Regions from separate parts of the Homo sapiens genome. Here region 1 is linked to region 2. Evidence: promoter capture Hi-C in human tissues and cell types (Jung and others, 2019). All regions are on one chromosome and are shown on one strand. The core of a region is centred on a gene start or on the middle of the fragment in contact, and the rest is flanking DNA. Distances in the headings are between cores, read along the strand shown.

Region 1 (6,821 bases), core at 2,058-4,557, 53 kb after region 2:
ACATGTCAATTTTGCTTTTTTAGTCAGTGGTATATACACTTACATTTATCTACCCAGTTTATATTACTGGCAAAGGCTACTAGCTGTGACTTCACTTTGACATTTTAATCAGTGTCTAAGATTCCGATACAACCTGAAGATGGGAGTGTGCCCCATGTATCTGCACCAGGTAAGACTTGGTTCAATAACAGTTCCTGGAATGATTATCCAGCTCCTAAAGGACTCTGCCATTTTTGGAACAGAGATTATAATTGTAAAATCAATGAAATCCTACAGCAGAGGATGGGAAGACAGAACATTTGTCTTGCTGACAATACAAGTAACATGAAAGCAACATGTGGGGTCAAAGTGAATGTCTATGTATTACTGTTAGAGGAGGTGCATTCCATGACCAAAATTTGTTTCTTTAATGACACTACTCAGTTGGATAACCTCCAAAAGCTCAGTTGAAGATCAAAAGCAGAAATAAAATATGTAAAAGCTACTCATATGATAGCTGCTATATTTAAAAACAAAAAGAAATGTGGTGTTTGGAAAGATGTTTATGTTCTAGAAGATGTAGTATATTAAGTAATACGTTATAAAAACAGGATGAGAAGTCAGATTCTATCTTTGTAATAATACAATTTTTGAAAGTCCTGAAAATGATTTTGAGACAGAAATAGAAGCACTAAATAAATGAAGCAAAGATGACAGCAACTGTTTAGAACTTGAACTTTTTTAAACAAAGCTCCATAAAATTAGAATAATCAATGAGTTCCGGAAATTTTTCTTTTCTCTACCTCCTCAAATCTACTTTGCTGAAAATGAGGGTGGTGTGCTATTATTTGCTCGATGAGGCATAAGACACAATGCCAACAGTTTTTTCTGTTGTCAATTTTTTGACTACTTCCCATTATATGAGCAGGATTAATTAATACATGGATACTAAAGTCCCTAGCTTTAAGAATTAGAAGATCTGAAATTGTTGTGTAAGCTACACGTGTCTATTTAGTATATCAATGCTAATTTTAGTACATGTATTAAAAATAAGATACATGCATTTTCTGTTTCTTAGTAGAATGAGAAGTTTTGGCTGAAATGACAAGATACATGAGATATCAAACACTAACAACCTGAGGACTGAGAGATTATCATGAGATAATTTTATTTTATTTTTTGAGACAGGGTCTTGCTCTGTCACCCAGGCTGGAGTGCAGTGGCACAACCACAGCTCACTGCAGCCTTGGCCTCCTGGGCTTAAGTGATTCTCCCACCTCAGCTCCCAAATAGCTGGGACTACAGGCGCATGCCACCATGCCCAGCTAATTCCTTTTTAATTCTTTGTAGTGATGGGGCCTCCCCCTATGTTGCCCAGGCTAGCCTTGAACTCCTGGGCTCAAGTGATCCTCCCACCTCAGCCTCCGGGAGTACTGGGATTATAGGAATGAACCACCATGCTGGGCTCATCAGAGAATTTTAAAACAGGTGTCTCAAAACTATTATGGAGTCACCCACAAGGTGGGTGTGGATTGTGGAGGATATGTGAAGAGGATCTCTTTGGGGCAAGCTGGGTTGTGAGTCTTTCCCCCTCACTCCAAGTTTACAGAATAGGGGTTCAGAGGGTCCACTTGGAGTGTCCAATATGATCAGGGGCTGCTGTGCACTGAGACATTAGCTATTAGCTGAGGTACTAGCACTGACATCCTATTATATTCCTATGCAGAAGGGCAAAATGTACAAGAGTGTTTCTGTGGAGCAGATGTGGGTCAAGTGGAAAAGAAAGCTGTCTTGGAGCCATTTGGAACTCCACCCAAAAAGATCGCCTAGGAGGGCAATGACATTCCAAAAGAGAATGTGGATGTACTCATTTCTAAACTAAGATGGTATGTACGATACAAAGTGACTGCAGGCTTTTTAAAAATTACTTTAGAAGGACAGATCAAAAAAGGCATGGACTGCCTAAGTTTGCATCCTATATTATCAGAGGAAAAAGTTATCCCACTGAATACATTTTAAAAGGACAGTGAAAGGCAAAAAAAGAGTTCATTTTACGGTTTTAACACCCCAAGAGTTCTAATTTTTCAAGCATGGTTATATACTTAAATTAACAAAGGGACCATTAAGTCTAAAAAATACATTTAAAGAGCATTACATATTTAAAGTTTCCCCATTCTCTTATACTCTAAAATGCTCTCTTTACTTTTACTTTACTTTCAGTGTTTACCATATTTGAACTAAAAAACGTCCTCAAAAGACGATAAGTTACTAAAGAAAAGACCAAACCATCTCTCTTCCAGGGAATTTCTTTGTTTGCTCACCTTTGGACAAGTGATTTCAGTCTGCTGGATCATGATGAGAGCTGAAGCTATGAGTGCCCCTTGCCTCACGTAGTTCACGGGGTCGTTTGTCATTGGTTCTAGCAAATTAATGGCTTCCTGAAAGAATTTAAAAAAACACACAACTTTTAAATAAAGTTGATATGGCTGAACTTTCAATTTATAGTCACATGCCATGTAACGACATTCTGGGAAGTGACACACTGCATATATGATGGTAGTCCCATTATAATGGAGTTGAAAAATTACTATTGCCTAAGTGACTTATTGATGATACTGGCCCTGTGTAGGCCTAGTATAATGTATGTGTGTCTTAGTTTTTTACAAAAAAGTTTAAAAAATATAAATAAATCATTTTGAAAACAGAAAAAACCTTACAGAACATAAAGAAAAAATATTTTTGTACAATGGTACAATTTTTTTTTTTTTTTTTTTTTTTTTTTTGAGATGTAGCTTCAACTCTTGTCACCCAGACTGGAGTGCAATGGCGCGATCTTGGCTCACTGCAACCCCTGCCTCCTGGGTTTAAGAAATTCTCCTGACTCAGCCTCCAGAGTAGCTGGGATTACAAGTGCATGCTACCACCCCCGGCTAATTTTTGTATTTTTAGTAGAGATGGGTTTCACCACGTTGGCCAGGCTGGTCTCCACCTCCTGACCTCAGGTGATCCACCCACCTCAGCCTCCCAAAGTGCTGCGATTATAGGCGTGAGCCACTGTGTCCGCCCAGGTTTGTGTTTTAAACCAAGTGTTATTACAAGAGTCAAAAAATTAAAAATAATTAAAAATTTATTAAAAAAAGATAAGCTAAGATCAATTATTGAAGAAAAAATGTATACATTTAGTAGCCAAAGTGTACAGTGTTTATAAAGTCTATTATAGTGACAATAGTGTCGTACGCCCTCACATTCACTCAACACTCACTCACTGACTCACCCAGAGCAAGTTCCAGTCCTACAAGTTCCATTCAGGGTTAAGTGCCCTATATAGTTGTATGATTTTTTATCTTTTATACTGTATTTTTACCATAACTGCCTAGTCAGTACAGTAACATGACGTACAGGTATGTATTCTGGAAGCAACAGACCATAACTATCTATGTTTGTGTAAGTATACTCTATGATGTTTGTACATTCACGGAACTGCCATTTCTCAGAACGCATCCCTGTTCTTAAATGATGCACAACTATATCTACTGTCACTCTAAGTCAATAATTTCATCCAACAGTGTAGTAAGAAGTTAATTAACAACTACGTGAATGGAATAGTTTAGAACTGGTCATGCTTTACTTAAATTTCAATATAACTGAGGGTAAGTGAAAAGGAAGCTTTAGAACCTGAGCGCTCTCGTCTTGAGGTAAGAGGTCATAAAAAATTAAGAGAAAATGGGATTAACATTTGATAAACACCTATTACTTTTCAGACACAGTACTAGGTATTTTATGTATTATGCTATATAACCCTCTTACTCCTAAAACAAACAAAATCCAGCACAAAACAATCTTTATAAACAAAGAAACTGAGAGATAGAAAGGTTAAATAACTTGCCCAAAGTCGAGTAAGTACTGATAGCAAACCCAGGCCAGTCTGAATCCAAAATTTGTATAATTCAACCTCTGTCAGGCTGGGTGGGCGTGGTGGCTTGTGCCTGTAATCCCAGCACTTTGTGAGGCCAAAGTGGGTGGATTAATTGAGGCCAGGAGTTTGAGACCAGCCTGGCCAACATGGTAAAACCCCTTCTCTACTAAAAATACAAAAATTAGCTGGGCGTGGTGGCAGATGCCTGTAATCCCAGCACTTTGGGAGGCCAAGGAGGGTGGATCATCTGAGGTCAGGAGATCGTGATCAGCATGGCCAACATGGTGAAACCCTGTCTCTACCAAAAATACAAAAAAAAAAAAAAAAAAAAAAAAAAAAAAAATTAGCTGGGCGTGGTGGCGGGTGCCTGAAGTCCTGGCTACTCAGGAGGCTGAGGCTGGAGAATCGCTTGAACCAAGGAGGCAGAGGTTGCAGTGAGGCAGGATAGTGCCATTGCACTCCGGCCTGGGCAACAAGAGTGAAACTCTGTCTCCAAAAAAAAAAAAAAAGGAAACAAACCTCTTTCAAATATTAGCGTAAGGTTGGGTGCGATGGCTCACGCCTGTAATCCCAACACTCTGAGAGGCAAGGTGGGATGACTACTTGATCCCAAGAGTTCAAGACTAGCCTGCGCAACATAGTTGACCCTGTCTCTAATATAAAAAAGAAAAAAGAAAAATAGTAATAAACAAATATTAGAGTAAGGTAACATCTCAGATGATTTTATAAGACCTAATTTTAAAAGTTAAATCAAGACAAAAAAATAAACAAACAAAAAACCCAAAATTTTCCAAACAAAATATTTTACTAGCTAGTAGAATAGCAAAACAAATGAAATCATAGACTAGAATTGATTTCATGGTTGCACTTCCTAAGACCACAAGTGATGAAATTTTCCAAAATATTTATCAGTATTTCCCCAATATCCTATTCTTCAGAATATCAGTTCTATGAAAAAAGAAGTCCTTTAATAAATAAGTTTGGGAGTTCAGGCATACTGTATATATATCATCTCCTCTTGCAGATACAAAATATATGTATACACTGTATCAAAGGTTCTAGGAATATACATATCATAACAAAAGTTCTAGGATGCCTTATTATAAACCACTCAACTGTTGTTTATACCAGCATTTGTCCAATGTATTTGATCAAAAACTCTTTTGCCCCGTATAACTTCTATTCACACTCTGCAGGACTTTTGGGAAGAGCCACTTTAAAACACAATGTCCCTGGCCGGGCACGGTGGCTCACGCCTATAATCCCAGCACTTTGGGAGGCCGAGGCAGGTGGATCACGAGGTCAGGAGTCCGAGACCAGCCTGACCAACATGGTGAAACCCCGTCTCTACTAAAGATACAAAAATTAGCTGGGCGTGGTGGTGGGCACCTGTAATCCCAGCTACTGGGGAGGCTGAGGCAGGAGAATCACTTGAACCCAGGAGGTGGAGGTTCCAGTGAGCCGAGATAGCGCCACTGCACTCTAGCCTGGGCAACAGAGCAAGACTCTGTCTTAAACCAAACCAAACCAAACCAAACCAAACCAAACCAAACCAAACCAAACCAAACCAAACCCACAACGTTCCTTTAATCTGTCATTGAGATTAGAGTTAAAAAAAAAATACAAAACAACAAGAAAAACAACAAAAAACCCCACAACATCCCTTACAAGGTCCTTAGGTAGGTATAAATCTGGGACGAAAAGAGTAATAGGCTTGTAAGATTATCAGATATTTCTTAATTTGGTAGGATGTTTCTCAAGTATCCTTCATTCCAAGACCAAGGAAAAGAATGAACTGAATCCTTTGTTGGAAAGTGACTTTGGATTCCTCTACATGTAAACTTAACATATATATATTAAAATTAGAGCTATTAACAGATAATACACACAGCAGATATGGGTATCCTTTCTCCCTACATTACTGAAACATGTAATGACACTGTGCACAGGGAGTATGTTTTTCAAACATATTGTCAATATTCTTTATGAAGTAGTCATGATAAAAATATAACCAAATTTCCATTTTAGAAGGTAAAAGACAGTAACTCGGCCTTTGAGGTACATAATACAACCCCAATGGTATATTTTAGAATAAACAGATGTTTCAGGTTTTTAAGAAATAATTAAAAAAAAGTCCCAAACTAGTTACATAGGTACTGATACCTAGATCACATAAATTATCTAGAAATAAAGGCTTGTTTAGTATGAGTAATAAAAAAACTTTTCATTCAATTAACTTGTCAGATGCTGTGTTTCAAAGAACATTTGCTCCTAGATATCATATTAAGTTCAGAATAATCTGAAAAGAAAAAAGAATCTAATTTACATTTAACTTATGAGGCCTGACATAAATGTCAACTTAAGACTCGAGGGGGGAAATACTTAGTAAAACATACAACTATATTCTTCCTTTGTTTACAGAACAGATGTGTTGTAGAAAAAAAATAAGGCCAATTTCTATAACTACATTCGATATACCCAATGACATCTCTAGTAAAACTGAAGATACATTCTCATGTAAGAAATTCTCCCCCCAAATAAATTAAAACATAAGTAAATTAATTAAAAATAAAAAAACTGGCCGGGCACAGTGGCTCATGCCTATAATCCCAGCACTTTGGGAAGCTGAGGCGGGTGGACAACCTGAGGTCAGGAGTTCGAGACCAGCCTGGCCAACATGGTGAAACCCCGCCTCTACTAAAAATATAAAAATTAGCCGGGTGTGGTGGCACATGCCTGTAATCCCAGCTACTCAGGAAGCTGAGGCAGGAGAATCGTTTGAACCCAGGAGGCGGAGGTTGCAGTGAGCCGAGATTGCACCACTGCAGTCCAGCCTGGGTGACAGAGTGAGACTCCATCTCAAAATAAATAAATAAATAAACAAACAAATAAATAAATAAAAACAAAAATAAAAAACAAAACTCTG
Region 2 (7,538 bases), core at 1,285-3,784:
AAAGGCAGCTGCTCCTGGGGGACACCCACCTCTCCAGCCTTTTTCTGGACCATGCCTCCAATCCATCCACCTCCCCCTACCTGATCCCTCTCCTTGCTCCCTTCCACCAATCCCACACTGGACCCTGCCAACAGCGAACTCCTGGCCATTCCCCCATGCAACAAGCTCTTCCAGGATCCTAAGCCTGTGGTTGATGTATGCTCTGCCCCCCCAGGCAAACATGACTCATGATTCTAAGCCAAGCCAGATTTAATCTCTTTTCAAGAAGTCTTCCATGAAAAACCCCTCCCTTCTTTCCCTACCAAGGCTTTTTTTTTTTTTTCTTTTTCTGAGATGGAGTTTAGCTCTGTTGCCCAGGCTGGAGTGCAGTGGCGGGATCTCGGCTCACTGCAACCTCCACCTCCTGGGTTCAAGTGATTCTCCCACCTCAGCCTCCCAAGTAGCTGGGGTTATAGGCATGCGCCATGACGCCCAGCTAATTTTGTTGTTTTGAGATGGAGTTTCACTTTTGCCGCCCAGGCTGGAGTGCAAAGGTGCAATCTGGCTCACTGCAACCTCTGCCTCCCAGGTTCAAGTGATTCTCCTGCCTCAGCCTCCCAAGTATATGGGATTACAGGCGTCCGCCACCAACGCCCAGCTAATTTTTGTATTTTTAGTAGAGACAGGGTTTCACCAGGTTGGCCAGGCTGGTCTTGAACTCCTGACCTCAAGCGATTCACCCACCCAAAGTGCAGGGATTACAGGCATGAGCCACTGCACCTGGCACTTCTTATAACCCTGTTCACAAAGACAGGGAGCTGTATTTCAACTTCATATCCCCAGAACCTAACAGAGTGTCTAGTAAGCAAGAAAGGTACTCAAGGCATATAATGAATAAATGAAGCCGGAGCTGAGGGGATGTCATTTTAAAGGCCCTGGAACGGGAAAAGTGAGTTTCTGAGAATTTGAAACCTTGAGGCCAACCTCAAGGCCTTTGCGCATATTACTCTCTCCGCCTAGAACACTCTTCCCTCTCTTCACCTGGTTAACCACTGTGCCTAATAAACATCACCTCCTTAGAGTAGACCTCCCTAAGCCGTTTAAATAGTATCTGCTGTGATCAACTGTCATTGAATGTGAGTGCTGCTGGGTATCCTATTACTCAACATTCTTAGAAATTACAGAATTGGCCAGGCACAGTGGCTCACACCTGTAATCCCAACACTTTGGGAGGCTGAGGCAGGCGGATCACCTGAGGTCAGGAGTTCGAGACCAGCCTGATCAACATGGTGGAACCCCATCTCTACTAAAAATACAAAAATTAGCCGGGCGTGGTGGCGTCTGCACCTGTAATCCCAGCTACCAGGGAGGCTGAGGCAAGAGAATCGCTTGAACCCAGGAGGTGGAGGTTGCAGTGAGCCGAGATCATGCCACTCCACTCCAGCCTGAGCGACAGGGAAAGACTCCGTCTCAAAAAAAGGAAAAGAAAAAGAAATTACAGAATTTTCTCTAAACTTTTATATCATAATAGGTATCATTTATTGAAGGTATATGGTATGCCAGGCAATGTGCAAAATGTTTTACATTTAACCTTCATAGTAAACCTGACAGGTGAATATAGTTTATATTTTCCCATTCCAGATGAGGCAATTTGAGGCCCAGGAAGTCTGACACACTCCCAACAGCCACAGTAAGTGACTAAGCGGCTGAAAAGAACCACTACACAGTATTTCCCAAAGTCTGGACCACCTAAATCAGAATCAGCTGGCACGCTTGTGCAAATGAAAATTCCTGCCTCCACCCTGGTCTTACTGAACACCGTGGCAGGCACCATGCCCAGAAATCTGCCTTTTAAACAAGCTCCCTGAGTGACTTTTACACACTCTCAAGTTTGAGAACCAGTGCTCTCCTTTATGCGGAAACTAAGAAAAACTTTTCCAGTTACATTTGGGGATTGCAGCGGCAGCTTTTGAATTCCTATATAAGAAAGATTTAGGGCCCACAAACGGGTGGGATTATGGGATTTGTATGGAAGCCGAATCTGCATAGCACGCATCCTGTTTTTCCTAAGATTAGGTGAAGTCTGGACTTCAACTGGGTGCCTCAGGAACGCGGCTAGCAGATGGAGATTATCAGGGGGATCTAAATCCCGGATAACCCGCTCGCGCCGCCACCACCAGCTGGATGGCTTGAGGGACCCCCTCCAAGTATGGCCCACTGCAGCAAAGATCAGGGACTACTTGCGGGAAGCAGCTGGGCCTGTCCTTTCTTGGGATGTCCAGGCGGCCGCCTCGGCCCTTGCCGAAGAAAGATCCCTGGACCGCAGGCGAGAAGTGGTAGCATCCGGCGGCGGCGGAGCGGGCGCGTCGGGTTTTTCCTCGGAACAAGAGGTCCGCAGAGCCTCGGCCCTCCAAACGCACCGCTGCTCCTCCCAGCACCAGGACGGCGGGCGGAGGGTGGCCCGGCTGCATCCGGGGACGCGCTTACCTGCTGCTCGGCCGCGGACACTCGCGCTATCCCAGCCCGGCCGCCACCTCCGCAGCCGTCACCCGGGCAACCGCCGCCGCCACCCCGGCGTCACGTGGGGGCGGCGCAGCCAATCGCGCGGGGCGCCGCCGACGCGGAGCAGCCTGGGAGGGAAGGTGGGCGACCCCGAAACTTCCTGGCGGCGGAAGTGAGGGTCCACAGCCCAGCAGTGGTGAAGGTTCACGCGCTGGATGACCGCGTCTTCTGTGGTCCTCTCCACCACTCCACTTTCGTTCGTTCATTCATTCGTTCATTTCCCTTTCGTTGCGCCAGTCGCTGCGCCGGCTCTCGGGATGAGCCGGAGCAGGCTCAACCCCTTGTCTCAAGGAGCTCGTGGTCGCGTAGAGAACACAAACTAGGACAGTGTGGTGTCCGTGGGGAAAGAGTCAGGCATGGTTATTCCCATCTTAAAGGAGGGACCTGGGGCCACCTTAGAACCAAAAGTGACGCCCAAGATGTGCATTAAAGCTCCGGGGACCAGGGTCCCGCCCCACTGCAGCGGTTTCCAAGGATTTCAGAGAAACTTTTTGTTTTCCATGTCAAATGTGGGCTATTAAAAATAAATCAGGAGCACACGTCTTCCCTCTCTTTGCACCTGATGCTTTTGAACTGAAGTTCATCAGCACTGAATGAGCACTTGCTAGTCACCCAACTTTGTGCTGGAGGGTGAAGAGATGGCCATGGATAGAAAATCCCTCCCCTCCAGGCGTTGAGATTCCGTGGGAGTCTCTCGTTGCCACCTCAGTGTTTCCACCTCCATGCTTCCAAGAAGGAGGAGGCTACCAGGGCCAGAGACAGGGAATGGGGCACGGAGAAGGTAGGTCAGCTCGCCTTTGAAGAAGCCCTAAGATGGGCTGTGGCCACCACTTCCCCAGTCCCCAACCCTGCCAGTGGATTGTCTTCCAAAAGAAAAAAAGCTGTATTTAGTAGAAGAGAGCCCTATCTTCTGTCCAGGTAATATGGATTGAAAATAAATCTTCAATCCATGGCCATAATATTTATCGTCAACACAACTGTATGCCGGGAGATGCCAGACAAAATATAGAACACACAGTTAAATGTAAATTTTAGATAATGTTTTAGTGTAAGTAAATCCCAAAAACTGCTTCATTTTATTGTGCATGTAGGATGTTATATTGTTCTGTATTTTTGTTTGCAAAACGTGCAGCCTATATGTGTGCCCAGCATTGTGCTAAGTGAATCATATAGATTGTTTTCTTTAGTTCTCACACCAGGCCCGGCACGGTGGCTCACACCTGTAATCCCAGCACTTGGGAGGCCAAGGCAGATGGATCACCTAAGGTCACAAGTTTCAGACCAGCCTGGCCAACATGGTGAAACCTGTCTCTACTAAAAATACAAAAATTAGCTGGGCGTATTGGCATGTGCCTGTAGTCCCAGCCACTCGGGAAGCTGAGGCAGGAGAATCCTTGAACCCGGAAGATGGAGGTTTCAGTGAGCCGAGATCACGCCACTGTACTCCAGCCTGGGCAACAGAGTGAGACTCTGTCTCAAAAAAAAAAAAGTTTTTAATTCTCACACCACATCTATGAGATGAATAATATTTTCAGCATTTTACTGATTGACAATGTTGTAATTAACCTGAGCTGTGTGCTCTTAGAAAACAGCCACAGTTAAGAAATCTCACCCACGCACCCCCAAACCTTTTGTTTTCTAAAATCCTCCACACTTTTGTGTTCTGGGAAGTAGCTTATCAGAAAGAACTACCCTTCCACATATGACTTCATCAGACCCACAGTCCTGTCTTTCTCATGCCTCCCATATGATGCACGGATGACCCCCTTGTTTACCTGTGACAAGGACAAATGCAGACCTTTTCCCTTCTGCCTGAGTCTGCCGGCAAGGCCAAGGACAGACTTTTCAGCTTCTCATTCTTTGTCTCATGGTTGATTAGCTGAGATTAGAGCTGTCTGTTTTGTCTTTGGCAAGATGAACAACATGAGGCATACGGGATTAAGAAACTCCTCAAAGTTTACACCACTGAGGAGACCAGGACTAAACCCAGGTCTCCGTGTCTCTGGACCCTGGGCTCTGAGCTGCCGTGAACACCCCACCTGCTTTGCTTTCCCTCCTGAGTGCATTTGCCTGACTGCCGGGATTATGGTCATTGTGGTGGCTATTGTCTTTGTCTGTCTACCTCCCCTCTCCCTTCTGGTAACATACCCCATCCCTCACCACAGGATGGGCAGATGGTCCAAACTGGACCAATCTTACCCCATCCCTCTGGCCTCAGTGATGGGTCCAGGATGGGCATGTGAGCCAAGCAAAGCCAATGATAGTCCTTCCCTGGGATTTTGCTGTTGAAGTGTGGTCAGGTTATTGTAAAGTGAGACTCCAGGGCAGCCTACAGCATTCACTACATGGGAAAGACTGAGAAGATGAAGCCATTACCTAGAGAAATGCAAAGAAAGTGCTGGGGACATCAAATCCCTGGTCCCAGGATCTGAGTTCCCTGGAGCTGCACTTATTCTTACAGCTCCTCCAGCATCCTTCCAATCAACTGTCTTTTAAATTTTTTATTTTTTTGAGACAGGGTCTTACTCTGTCACCCAGGCTGGAGTGCAGTGGCGCAATCTCAGCTTGCTGCAACCTCTGCCTCCTGGGCTCAAACAATCCTCCCACCTCAGCCTCCCTCATAGCTGAGATTACAGGCATGTGCCACCACGCTCAGCTAATTTTTGTACTTTTTATAGAGACGGAGTTTTGCCATGTTGCCCAGGCTGGTCTCAAACTCCTGAGCTCAAGCCATCTGCCTGCCTCAGCCTCCCAAAGTGCTGGGATTATACATATTACTGCACCCGACTTCAACCATCTTTTTAATTTCAACTAGTTTGGACCTGCATGGTGGCTCATGCCTGTAATCCCAGCACTTTGGGAGGCCAAGGTGGGAGAATTGCTTGAGGCCAGGAGTTTCAGACCAGCCTACACAACATAGCAACATCCATCTGTACAAAAAAAAAAAATCCGTCTGTACAAAAAAAAAATTATTTTAATTAATAAACTGGTTCAAGTTGGGTTTCTGTCACTTGCAACCAAAAGAGACCAGACTAACATAGACACAATTTCTATATGTCTGTTTGAGATAGGAAAAACCAAACTGACTGCTTTTACTCTTCTCACACTCAACACATTTTTTTTTTTTTGAGACAGAGTCTAACTCTGTTGCCCAGGCTAGAGTGAAGTGGCACAGTCATAGCTTGCTGCAGCCTCAGCTTCCAGGCTCAAGTGATCCTCCTGCCTCAGCCTCCCAAGTAGCTGCTGGGACCACAAGCACGCACCACTATGCTCGGCTTTTTCTTTTTTTTTTTTTCCTTAGAGGTGGGGTCCCACTTTGTTGCCCAGGCTGGTCTCGAACGCCTAGGCTCAAGCGATCCTCCCGCTTTGGCCTCCCAAAGTGCTGGGATTATAGGTGTGAGCCACCATGCCCGTCCTCAACACAATGCTTCTGACAGCAGATGTGTGGAGGTTTTTCCTTACACACTAAGCAACTATCCAGCAGACACTAACTGGTTGTCCTACAATTCAATTCTGATACTAGCTAATGACTGGAGTTAGAATCAGATCCCATAGGTCAAAGGCTCAGTCCCACAAGACTGTCCCCCACCTCAGATGCCAGTCAAAAGTAGCAGTTGTCATCTGTACTTCTAACCAAATGGCTATAAATGAGGGTTCCATTAATTTACTAGGATGGCTCATAGAAGGAAACACTCACATGTACTGGCTCATTATAAAGAATGTGACAAAGGTTACAGATAAACAGCCAGATGAGATGGTACCCAGGGCAAAGGATGGGGGCGCAGACCTTCCATGCCCACTCCAGGTACCTCCATGGTTCAGCAGTCTAGAAGCTCTTCAAACGCTGTGGTTGAGGGATTTTTACAGAGGCTTCGTAATGCAGGCACAATCGATTGTTATTATTATTATTATTATTTTTGAGACGGAGTTTCACTCTTTGTTGCCCAGGCTGGAGTGCAATGGTGCAATCTCAGCTCACTGCAACCTCCGCCTCCGGGGTTCAAACGATTCTCCTGCCTCAGCCTCCCAAGTAGCTGGGATTACAGGCATGCGCCACCACGCCCAGCTGATTTTGTATTTTTAGTAGAGACAGGGTTTCTCCATGTTGGTCAGGCTGGTCTCGAACTTCCGATCTCAGGTGATCTGCCTGCCTTGGCCTCCCAAAGTGCTGGGATTACAGGCGTGAGCCACTGCGCCTGGTCGGCACAATCAATTATCAACTCAATCTCTGGCTTTTCTCCCCATCCCAGAAGATGGGGATGGGGCTGAAAGTTCCAAGCTTCTAACCTTGGCTTGGTTTTTCTGGTGACCAGCCCACCAAGAGTCATCTCATTAGAATACTAGATGTTCCCATCACCCATGAAATTCCAAGGGATTAGGACCCTTTATCAGGAGCAAGGGACAAAGACCAAATAGAACAAAAAGATCCACCTAGTGCCCCATCACTCAGGAAATGACAAGAATTTTAGGAGCTCTGTGCCAGGAGCCAGGGGCAGAGATCAATTATATATTTTTCCTTTCTTTTTCTTTCTTTCTTTTTTTTTTTTTTTTTGTTAGACAGAGTTTTGCTGTTGTCACCCAGGCTGGAGTGCAGTGGTGCAATCTCAGCTCACTGCAACCTCTGCTTCTTGGGTTCAAATGATTCTCCTGCCTCAGCCTCCCGAGTAGCTGTGATTACAGGTGCGTGCCCCCCACGCCCACCTAGTTTTTGTATTTTTAGTAGAGACAGGGTTTCACCATGTTGGCCAGGCTGGTCTCGAACTCCTGACCTCAGGTGATCTGCCCGCCTCAGCCTCTCAAAGTGCTAGGATTACAGGTGTGAGCCACCGTACCCGGCCTAATTATATATTTTTCTTATTTCACAATGTCATATCAACTAAAAGTGGCCTCAGCAATGGGGGTGGTGGTTCATTTTCTTATAATAAATACAGAAGTAGCTGGCTTCTTACCAGCAGCTCAAGTTGTCAAGGATCTGGGTTGGTTCTGAATTGTATCAT

Evidence for each region. Contacts are between HindIII fragments. The study calls those that stand out against the background at their distance.
Region 1: a contact is called between a fragment that was not itself captured here and the fragment with the promoter of ARMC9 in region 2, in 3 of the 25 tissues and cell types used here (IMR-90 fibroblasts, adrenal gland and dorsolateral prefrontal cortex).

What each region holds. Positions count from the first base shown.
Region 1 is chr2:231,141,836-231,148,656 of GRCh38, reverse strand. PSMD1 (proteasome 26S subunit, non-ATPase 1) reads right to left here. Exons shown (of 25, transcript NM_002807.4): 18 at 2,301-2,417. Among named protein-coding and RNA genes, the nearest start is that of HTR2B, 20 kb to the right of the region's middle. The HindIII fragment of the contact is 3,934 bases long and covers 1,341-5,274 here.
Region 2 is chr2:231,193,627-231,201,164 of GRCh38, reverse strand. ARMC9 (armadillo repeat containing 9) reads right to left here and starts at 2,534. Exons shown (of 25, transcript NM_001352754.2): 1 at 2,467-2,534. RefSeq lists a silencer at 2,389-2,728. The HindIII fragment of the contact is 14,859 bases long and covers 1-7,304 here.